Regions from separate parts of the Homo sapiens genome. Here all the other regions are linked to region 1. Evidence: promoter capture Hi-C in human tissues and cell types (Jung and others, 2019). All regions are on one chromosome and are shown on one strand. Each heading gives the region's core, a stretch centred on a gene start or on the middle of the fragment in contact. The rest is flanking DNA. Distances are from core to core; before and after follow the strand shown.

What was found. Contacts are between HindIII fragments. The study calls those that stand out against the background at their distance.
Region 2: a fragment that was not itself captured here is called in contact with the fragment with the promoter of ADSL in region 1 in 1 of the 25 tissues and cell types used here (dorsolateral prefrontal cortex).
Region 3: a contact is called between a fragment that was not itself captured here and the fragment with the promoter of ADSL in region 1, in 1 of the 25 tissues and cell types used here (dorsolateral prefrontal cortex).

What each region holds. Positions count from the first base shown.
Region 1 is chr22:40,345,167-40,347,961 of GRCh38, forward strand. It overlaps ADSL (adenylosuccinate lyase), which reads left to right and starts at 1,334. Exons shown (of 13, transcript NM_000026.4): 1 at 1,334-1,545. The coding sequence starts at 1,393. RefSeq lists enhancers at 849-1,362, 1,363-1,876, 1,877-2,389 and a silencer at 1,587-1,676. The HindIII fragment of the contact is 18,864 bases long and covers 1-2,795 here.
Region 2 is chr22:39,513,974-39,516,768 of GRCh38, forward strand. It overlaps MIEF1 (mitochondrial elongation factor 1), which reads left to right. Exons shown (of 6, transcript NM_019008.6): 6 at 1-2,795. The coding sequence ends at 350. Among named protein-coding and RNA genes, the nearest start is that of ATF4, 5.2 kb to the right of the region's middle. The HindIII fragment of the contact is 4,706 bases long and covers 1-2,795 here.
Region 3 is chr22:40,887,207-40,890,001 of GRCh38, forward strand. All of the region lies in intron 4 of XPNPEP3 (X-prolyl aminopeptidase 3), which reads left to right. Among named protein-coding and RNA genes, the nearest start is that of DNAJB7, 26 kb to the left of the region's middle. The HindIII fragment of the contact is 5,151 bases long and covers 1-2,795 here.

The sequences.
Region 1 (2,795 bases), core at 84-2,583:
AGAGGGTGCAGGCACCCGGCTCTTTTCGTTTGTTTTGTTTTTGAGACAGGGTCTCACTGTTGCCTAAGCTGTAGTGGCAAAATCATGGCTTACTGCAGCCTCAACATCCTGGGCTCAAGTGATTCTCCCACCTCAGCCTCCCAAGTAGCTGGGACTACAGGTGCACACCACCATACCCAGTTAATTTTTGTATTTTTTGTAGAGACAGTGTTTCATCATGTTGCTCAGGCTGGTCTCCAACTCCTGGACTCAAGCGATCTGCCCAGCTCAGCCTCCAAAGTGCTGAGATTATAGGCGTGAGTCACCGTGCCCAGCTGAGACACCTGGCTCTTACAGCTCCAGATGAACCCTTTCCTGTGTGATCACCCCACTGGCACTCCAGACTGAACAACATAGCAAGACCCTGTCAAAAAAAAAAAAAAGGGGGGGGGCCACTTGAGTGTTTCTATTTCTATTTATTTATTTAATTCTTTTATTTTTTGGAGACGGAGTCTCGCTCTGTCGCCCAGGCTGGAGTGCAGTGGCGCGATCTTGGCTCACTGCAACCTCCGCCTTCCGGGTTCAAGAAATTCTCCTGTCTCAGCCTCACAAGTAGCTGAGACTACAGGTACAGGCCGCCATGCCCGACTAATTTTTTGTATTTTAGTAGAGACAGGGTTTCACGTGTTGCCCAGGCTGGTCTCAAACTCCTAAGCTCAGGAAATCTGCCTGCCTCGACCTCCCGAAGTGCTGGGATTACAGGCGTAGGCCACCGCAGCCGGCTCACTGGGGGCGCAGTAAATGCCGATTTCCCTTGGGTATCTTCATTTCTCCTTAGAGCCGAGCTCGGTGCGCCGCGGGCAGGAGTGGGTGGGGCGACAGTAATAAGAGTAACAGCAAGCGTACACACGGCCTTCCAAGTGTGCCAGACACCGCTCTAACACTGAATCCGCACAACCCGAAAGGCAGGCCTTTTTTTTTTTTTTTTTTTTTGCTTTTTGTTTTTTAGAGACGGGAGGGTCTCCCTGTGTTGCCCAGGCTGGTCTCGATCTGTCGGCCTCAAGCGATCCTCCGGTCTGGGGCCCCCACAGTGCTGGGATTACAAGCGTGAGCCACCGCGCCCGGCCAAGGAAGTCTTAATGTACCTCTTTTCAGACAGGAAAACTAAAGTGTAGCGCGGCTAAGTAACGTAGGAAGCATCAATCATGTTTCTGGTCAAAGAAGCGAACCAAGTCAATTCTCAGGCAGAAGCAGCGGAGATTCTCCGCAGCCGGCAGCGCCCAGGGCGCCCGGAACCCAGAGAGCGAGACCGCGTGAAGGAAGTCCCGCCCCGCCCCGTCCTGCCCTGGCCTCCAGGTTTCCGCTTCCGCTCTTCCCTGGTCCAGTCCACCCTGGCGGGGTCGCAGGGTTGGGATGGCGGCTGGAGGCGATCATGGTTCGCCCGACAGCTACCGCTCACCTCTTGCCTCCCGCTATGCCAGCCCGGAGATGTGCTTCGTGTTTAGCGACAGGTATAAATTCCGGACATGGCGGCAGCTGTGGCTGTGGCTGGCGGAGGCCGAGCAGGTAACGGATCCCGGGCTGAGGGGCTGGGCCGGGAGGGACGGGCCCGCCCCAGCACGTGCCGGGCTCTGTTCCGGGCTGGGCTTAGCCACCCCGGAGCTGCGGCCCGGCTATTTTCAGCTGGGTGTTCCCTGTCCTGAGGAGCTGCGGCCCCAGGAAAGCAAGGGCAGGAGATCCGGGAGCCGCCACCTGTTGCCTCACGTGTTCTCAGTCCGAGAGGGTTCGAGACGCGGAGGAGGCTGGGAGAAATTCAGCCTGTAGTTTCAGGGAATTCATTTTGGCCATCCCCGCAGGAGTACGCTGCTAACCACAGACACCGAGCGCTTGTTTCGTACTGTTGTGCTCATTATTTCACTAATCTTTTCTTGTGTAATCCATGAAGATCTTGCAGGCTTGATGGTGTTTTTCCCACATTGCAGGGGAGAACAAAGCCCGGACAGCTTGTTGTTTGCCCTAGCCCATCCAGCTATTAAGAACGGAACTGGGATTTGAACCTGGGTGCACTCCAGAGCCTGAGCTGAGCACGTAGCCCCTTGGTTTTCCACAGTGCCTGTGTAGTTAGTGACAGGACTGGAATGCTTGTTTTCTAGGCCACCGTTTCTGCCTCACTGGCCTCCGCTTTGCCTCTTAGGAGAAGACTCCGGGTAGGGGTTTATTAAACGGGGTTTATAATTTCTTTTCTAAGGGCTGCATAGAGAACTTCTTAGCCCAGCGGTTTCAGAAATAGCTCCAGAAGAGTTGAAGCAAACTGAAGGTGATCCAGAGAGCGATAATGTTTCTCCTCAAGTTTCAGAGGAAAGTGCCACAACGAGCAAGTTGGCAATGCCCTCTCAAACGGCACAGTAAACATGGAAACAATTTGACTTCGGGCCTAGGACCTGTACCATGGAACTCTCCAAACAGGAAACTTTCATTCTAGATTCCCTCCCTCCCCTTATCACTGCCCTCCAAAATATTGGGCGATACACTACAATAATAGCAGACATTCAGATAGTGCCTTCTGAGACCCAGGTCTTAACCCTTTACACATGGTTGCTTATTAATCCTCCAAACAACCCTGAAGAGTAGGTATGAAATACTATGACTGTACCTGTTTTACAGATGGAAGAATGAAGCATCAACTTAATAAACTCTTGGCGTAGATAGCGATAGTAGTAGACCTTAATCATGTGTTGTGGTTTGTGATGTACTAGTGTGTACTCTTTCTATTTCATCTGATATTCTATTCTGTAGATGAGGGTAGTGGTACTCAA
Region 2 (2,795 bases), core at 170-2,669, 830 kb before region 1:
GCCTGCGGGCTCTGGACCAGGCTGACTCGGGCTGCCGATCTCTGTGCCTCAAGATCCTCAAGGCCATATGCAAGTCCACCCCGGCTCTGGGCCACCTCACTGCCAGCCAGCTAACCAATGTCATCCTCCACTTGGCCCAGGAGGAGGCTGACTGGTCTCCGGATATGCTGGCCGACCGTTTCCTGCAGGCCTTGAGGGGACTTATCAGCTACTTAGAGGCTGGAGTCCTGCCCAGTGCCCTAAACCCCAAGGTGAACTTATTTGCAGAGCTCACCCCTGAAGAAATAGACGAATTAGGATACACTCTGTATTGCTCATTGTCTGAGCCAGAGGTGCTGCTGCAGACGTAGGGCAGGTGAAGGCCAAAGCGGGTGTTGGTGGTCAGGCCCTGGATTCTCCGTTAGATACACTTGGCTACCTAGTTGGTGCCTCACAGGGTTCCTGCTGCCTGGTGTCTTGCTGATCATCACCCTGGTCACTTCATGCTGATTAGAATGACATCTCTTTCGTCTCCTATTTTGTTACCCAACTCTTCCTATTTTTGTTACCAATCACTGTGCTCTCTGCCGCCCCCTGGCTCCAGGCTAATTTTTCTGGAATGAATTGAGAAGGTGGCGTGCTGGCCTGAGCTGATGGACCACTTGGTGTTTTGCGTTTTGGCCCATGTTTGCTGCCTCTATCTGGTCTGCCTTGCCCGTTTGCCTGTTCCTATTCAGTGTCTTTTCTATTTTTTCCTCTCTCGTTCATGCCTTCTGTTTTGCTCTTGTCCCTGGAGCATATCTGCCTAATTAAGATGTTGCCTTTTAGTTGAATGCCACTGAAGAGCTGTGATAGCATGTTTCAAAGCTGAACTCTACAGAGCGAGTGCTGAGACAGTATTTAGGGTTTCTGGGAGTGAGGCTGGTAGAAGAGTTGGCCTTTGACCACGGTTCCTGGAGTAGAAGTCCATCCTCCCCCCAACCTCCTGACCCATTCATAAATGCTGAGAATGTCTCTCATGGGAACACTGTTAATGACCCACACAGGATAAGCTGAATGCAAAGTTATTTGCAGGTTGAATTTCTTGGTGGCTATTAGCAGAAGTGCAGAGTAGGGAACCAGAGCTGGTTAAGGGCCTAGTGAAGGGTTTGTGTGCCCAGTGTCTGCTCGTCATCTGTGGCTGCAGGGGTCAGACAGACAAGGATGGGGACTGCCAGGGCACCACTTCATCATGAATGCTGGTTTTCACACCTTTTCCTTATTTTATTGCCAATCAGGACAAGGCCTTGAAGGAACGCAGCCTTAGACATCAGGTGAGGATGATGGAGGTAGACAGTCGACTGAATGTCAGCTGGAAAATCCAGTCACTAGTTGGGGTTTGGTGGCCATGTTTTCTACCCAGACAGGCCCTGCTTTTCTAGGATGTGGCCTTAGAGCAAGAACAGACCCAACAGCCAGCCCTTCATCCTCCAGCGTCTGCCATAGGAATGTGAGAGGGGTGTTTGCTGAGCGCTCCGGGCACGGCCAGAGGGCAAGTGAGCATGCACGGACCTCTTCCCCCTGTCCTGTTTCTCACCCAGCACCTGGGGAGATCGGTGCTACCAAGGAAGAGAGCACACAGATAAGACAGAGGGGAGGAGGTGGGCATTTCCTACATTCCTCCTTGTTTGCCGCTGCTGAGATTGCAGTATTTATTGCAATGTAAATGTATCCTGAAGGTGGGGAGGAATGTTTAATCTACCATGTCCGTGTGTCATCTTGGTTTGTGTTTTTCCCTGTTTGTAGCAAGACTCTGATGATAATTCTGTTTCTCATCTGCCCATTCAGTATTTTGTTTTCCTTCCGTCAAGTTGTCTTATTTTTTCAATGACTACCTCTCCATCATTGAGGTTCTGGTGAAGCTCTCTGCAGCTGTCTCATTCCTTCCCAACGATAGTAACAGGAAATGACTCTTTAGCATCGATACCTCAACATCAATTTAGGGTAGAGATTCCTGCCCCTCTTTTGTCACAGATTAGGAAATTGAGAACTAGGGTTAACCTTGACTATATTTAGAGGTCTTTTTGCCTCTTTTCCCCTTAACAAGGATTTCTTATGGTGGTTTCAGTTTCATTTGCATAAAGGTATTGAGAGGGAACAAAAAACATAAAGCTGAGAATCTTGAGAGAGCTCATCTACCCTGTCTGTTGGTCAGACTCAAATGAGAGTTAAAAAAAAAAAAAAAAATCTGTATGCCTGAGTACCATCCTGGATGAATCTAGAAGGTATGGGGTAGAGCTTGACAGGGTTCCTGTGTACCCACTGGGTATCCGTTAGAGGTAAGGGAGAGGAGAGGATTGATAGAGTGTTGCAAAAGTATAGATTATTCATTGAGATAAAGGATTTGGTTTCCCTGCCATGAGTATTAAAAAAATTTAAGTTTTCCCAAGCTTGCATCTCTGACCAAATTTCACATAAAACATTGGAAGGAGGCTGGGTGCGGTGGCTCATGCTTGTAATCCCAGCACTGGGAAGCTAAGGCGGGTGGATCACTTGAGGTCAGGAGTTCGAGACCAGCCTGGCCAACATGGTGAAACCCCGTCTCCACGAAAAAGATAAAAATAAGCTGGGCGTGGTGGCAGGCGCCTATAATCCCAGCTACTCGGGAGGCTGAGGCAGGAGAATAACTTAAACCCGGGAGGCGGAGGTTACAGTGAGCTGAGATCGTGCCACTGCACTCCAGCCTGGGTGACAGAGTGAGACCCTATTTCAAAAAAATAAAAATTGGAAGAAGAGCTTAAAAAAGATAAGATTTTAAAGAGTCCCAAGTTATTTAA
Region 3 (2,795 bases), core at 142-2,641, 540 kb after region 1:
AACCATAATATGAAAGTAAGGATATATATCACAGCCAATGGCTGTCTCAAAGCAAGGAGTCTAGAGAAGCCAGGTGCAGGCTTCTCTGGTCCTCCCTAGGTGAGGGCCAGGCAGGATGTATCTTTCTCTTACAGATTAGGAATCACCAGTGTTGTCATACTCTGCTCAGGCTGCCATTACAAAATATCACAGTCTGCATGGCTTAAACAAGAGAAATGTATTGTCTCATAATTTTGCAGTCTGGAAGTCCGAGATCAAGGTGCCATCATGGTCCATTTCTGGTGAGGGCTCTCCCGGCTTACAGAAGGCGGCTTTCTTGCTGTGTCCTTACATGACAGTGAAAGAGGGCCTTTTTACAAGGCCATGGTCCTATCAAATTAGAGCCCCACCCTTAATTACCTAATTTAACCTTAACTACCTCCTAAAGACATAGAGATTAGAGCTTTAACACATTAATTCTGCGGGAAACACAATTCAGTCCATGGCACATGCAACAGACTACCTCAGAATCAGAGACTCCAAAATGGAATCTCAGCTAGGGATTTTTGTTTTTTTGGTCACATAATCATATTCCTGCTACGTAACAGTAAAGCCCCCCGAGAGTTTTCACAGAGACCAAGTGTAAACCATAAATCTCACTGGCAAACTGATAGAAACTATCCCAAAACTCCCTATTTCATTTATTCTCTCCAAGGTGTTGGCCATTGACTTAATTTAAAAAAATCTTTTTACTGTGGTGAAATGTGCATAACATAAAATATATCATTTTAACCGTTTTTAAGTATGCAAATCAATGACATTAAGTACATTCACATTGTTGTGCCCACTTTTTCCCGACTTTCTCCATCATTCCAAATAGAAACTGTACAGATAAATAATAACTTCCCATTCTCCCCTCCTCCAGCCCCCAGTAACCTCTACTTTCTCTGTGAATCTACCTATTCTAGCTACTTCATATAAATGGAATCATACAACATTTGGCTTTTTGTGACTGGCTTATCTCACTTAGCATAATGTTTTTAAATTTCTTCCATTAGAATTTCACTTTTGTTTTTTAGATAGAGTCTCGCTCTGTTGCCCAGACTAGAGTGCAGTAGCATGATCACAGCTCACTGCAGTCTCGACCTCCTGGGTTCAAGTGATCCTCCCACCTTAGCCTCCCAAGTAGCTGGGACCATTGGTGCATGCCACTATGCCTGCTAATTTTTTAAATTTTTTGTAGAGACAGGGTTTCTCAGTGTTGTCCAGGCTAGTCTCGAACTCCTGAGCTCAAGCAGTCCGCCCACCTTGACCTCCCAAAGTGCTGGGATTACAGGTATGAGCTGCCATGCCCAGCTTCATTCTTTTTAAAGACTGAATAATATTCCATTGTATGCGTATGCCATATTTTATTTGTCTATTCATCCATTGATAAACATTTGGTTTCTATCTTTTTTTTTTTTTTACTATTGTGAATAATGTTGCTGTAAACATAAGTGTACAAATATCTTGTGTTCAAGTCTCTTTTAATTCCATTTGGTATATACACACAACTGGAGTTGCTAGATCAAATGGTAATTTTATGTTTAATATTTTGAGGACCACCATACTGTTATCCATAGTGGCTGCACCGTTTCACATTCCCACTAGCAACGCACCAAGGGTTTCAATTTCTCCACTCTACACCAACATTTGTTCTGTTTTTGTGGCAATAGCCAATCCTAATGTGTGTGAAGTGGTATCTTACTGTGGTTTGGATTTGTATTTCCCTAATGATTAGTGGTGTTGGGCATCTTTTTATGTGCTTCCTGCCTTCCTAATGGTTTTTTTTTTGTTTTGTTTTGTTTTGTTTTGTTTTTTCTTTTTGAGACAGTGTCTCGCTATTGCTCAGGTTGGAGTGCATGGTGAGATCATAGCTTACTGCAACCTTGAATTCCTGGACTTAGGGGATACTCTTGCCTCAGCCTCCTGAGTAGCTTGGATTACAGGCACATACCACCATGGCTGTTTTTAGGTTTTTGTAGAGATGGGGTGTCACTATATTATCCAGGCTGGTGTTGAACTCCTGGCCTCAAGAGATCTTCCATCCTCAGCCTCCCAAAACACTAAGATCACAGGCATGAGCCAACATGTCCAGCATCCTCTTAACACTTTCAGTCAGTATGTTTCCTGCCACACCTTGACCAAGGAAGGAACTTTAGCAAAATAGCTCTGGCTAATTCTAAACCTGGAATTAGCACAACAGTTCACTCTACCCCCATAACCAACATTAACTCTATTTTTTGATAAAACAGTAATCCTGAGTTGACAACAGTTACTTCACTTCTCAATATCATATAGATAATCAAAATACATAGACAAGCAGGGCATAGTGGCTCACCCCTATAATCTCAGCACTGAGGCCAAGGTGGGAGGATCACGTGAGGCAGCGAGGAGTTAGAGACCAGCCTGGCAACATGGCAAGACCTCACCTCTACAAAAAAAGATATTTTAATTAGCCAGGCATTGTGGCATATGCCTGTAGTCCTAGCTACTCTGGAGGCTGAGGCAGAAGGATCACTTGAGCCCAAAAGTTTAAGGTTACAGTGAAGTATTATCACATCACTGCACTCCAGCCTTGGTGACAGAGCAAACACTGTCTCTAAAAAAATGCATACACAGAATCCAAACATTTACAATGATCAGTGAAGGGTTGGTACTGATTTAAACAGACAGCTGAATTATCCAATTACACTTTCTTGTGTTTTTGTACGAACTGTACAGTCCTTTGGCCTCCTTGATCCACAGTTTTCTGCACTTCATGGTATATATCTGCT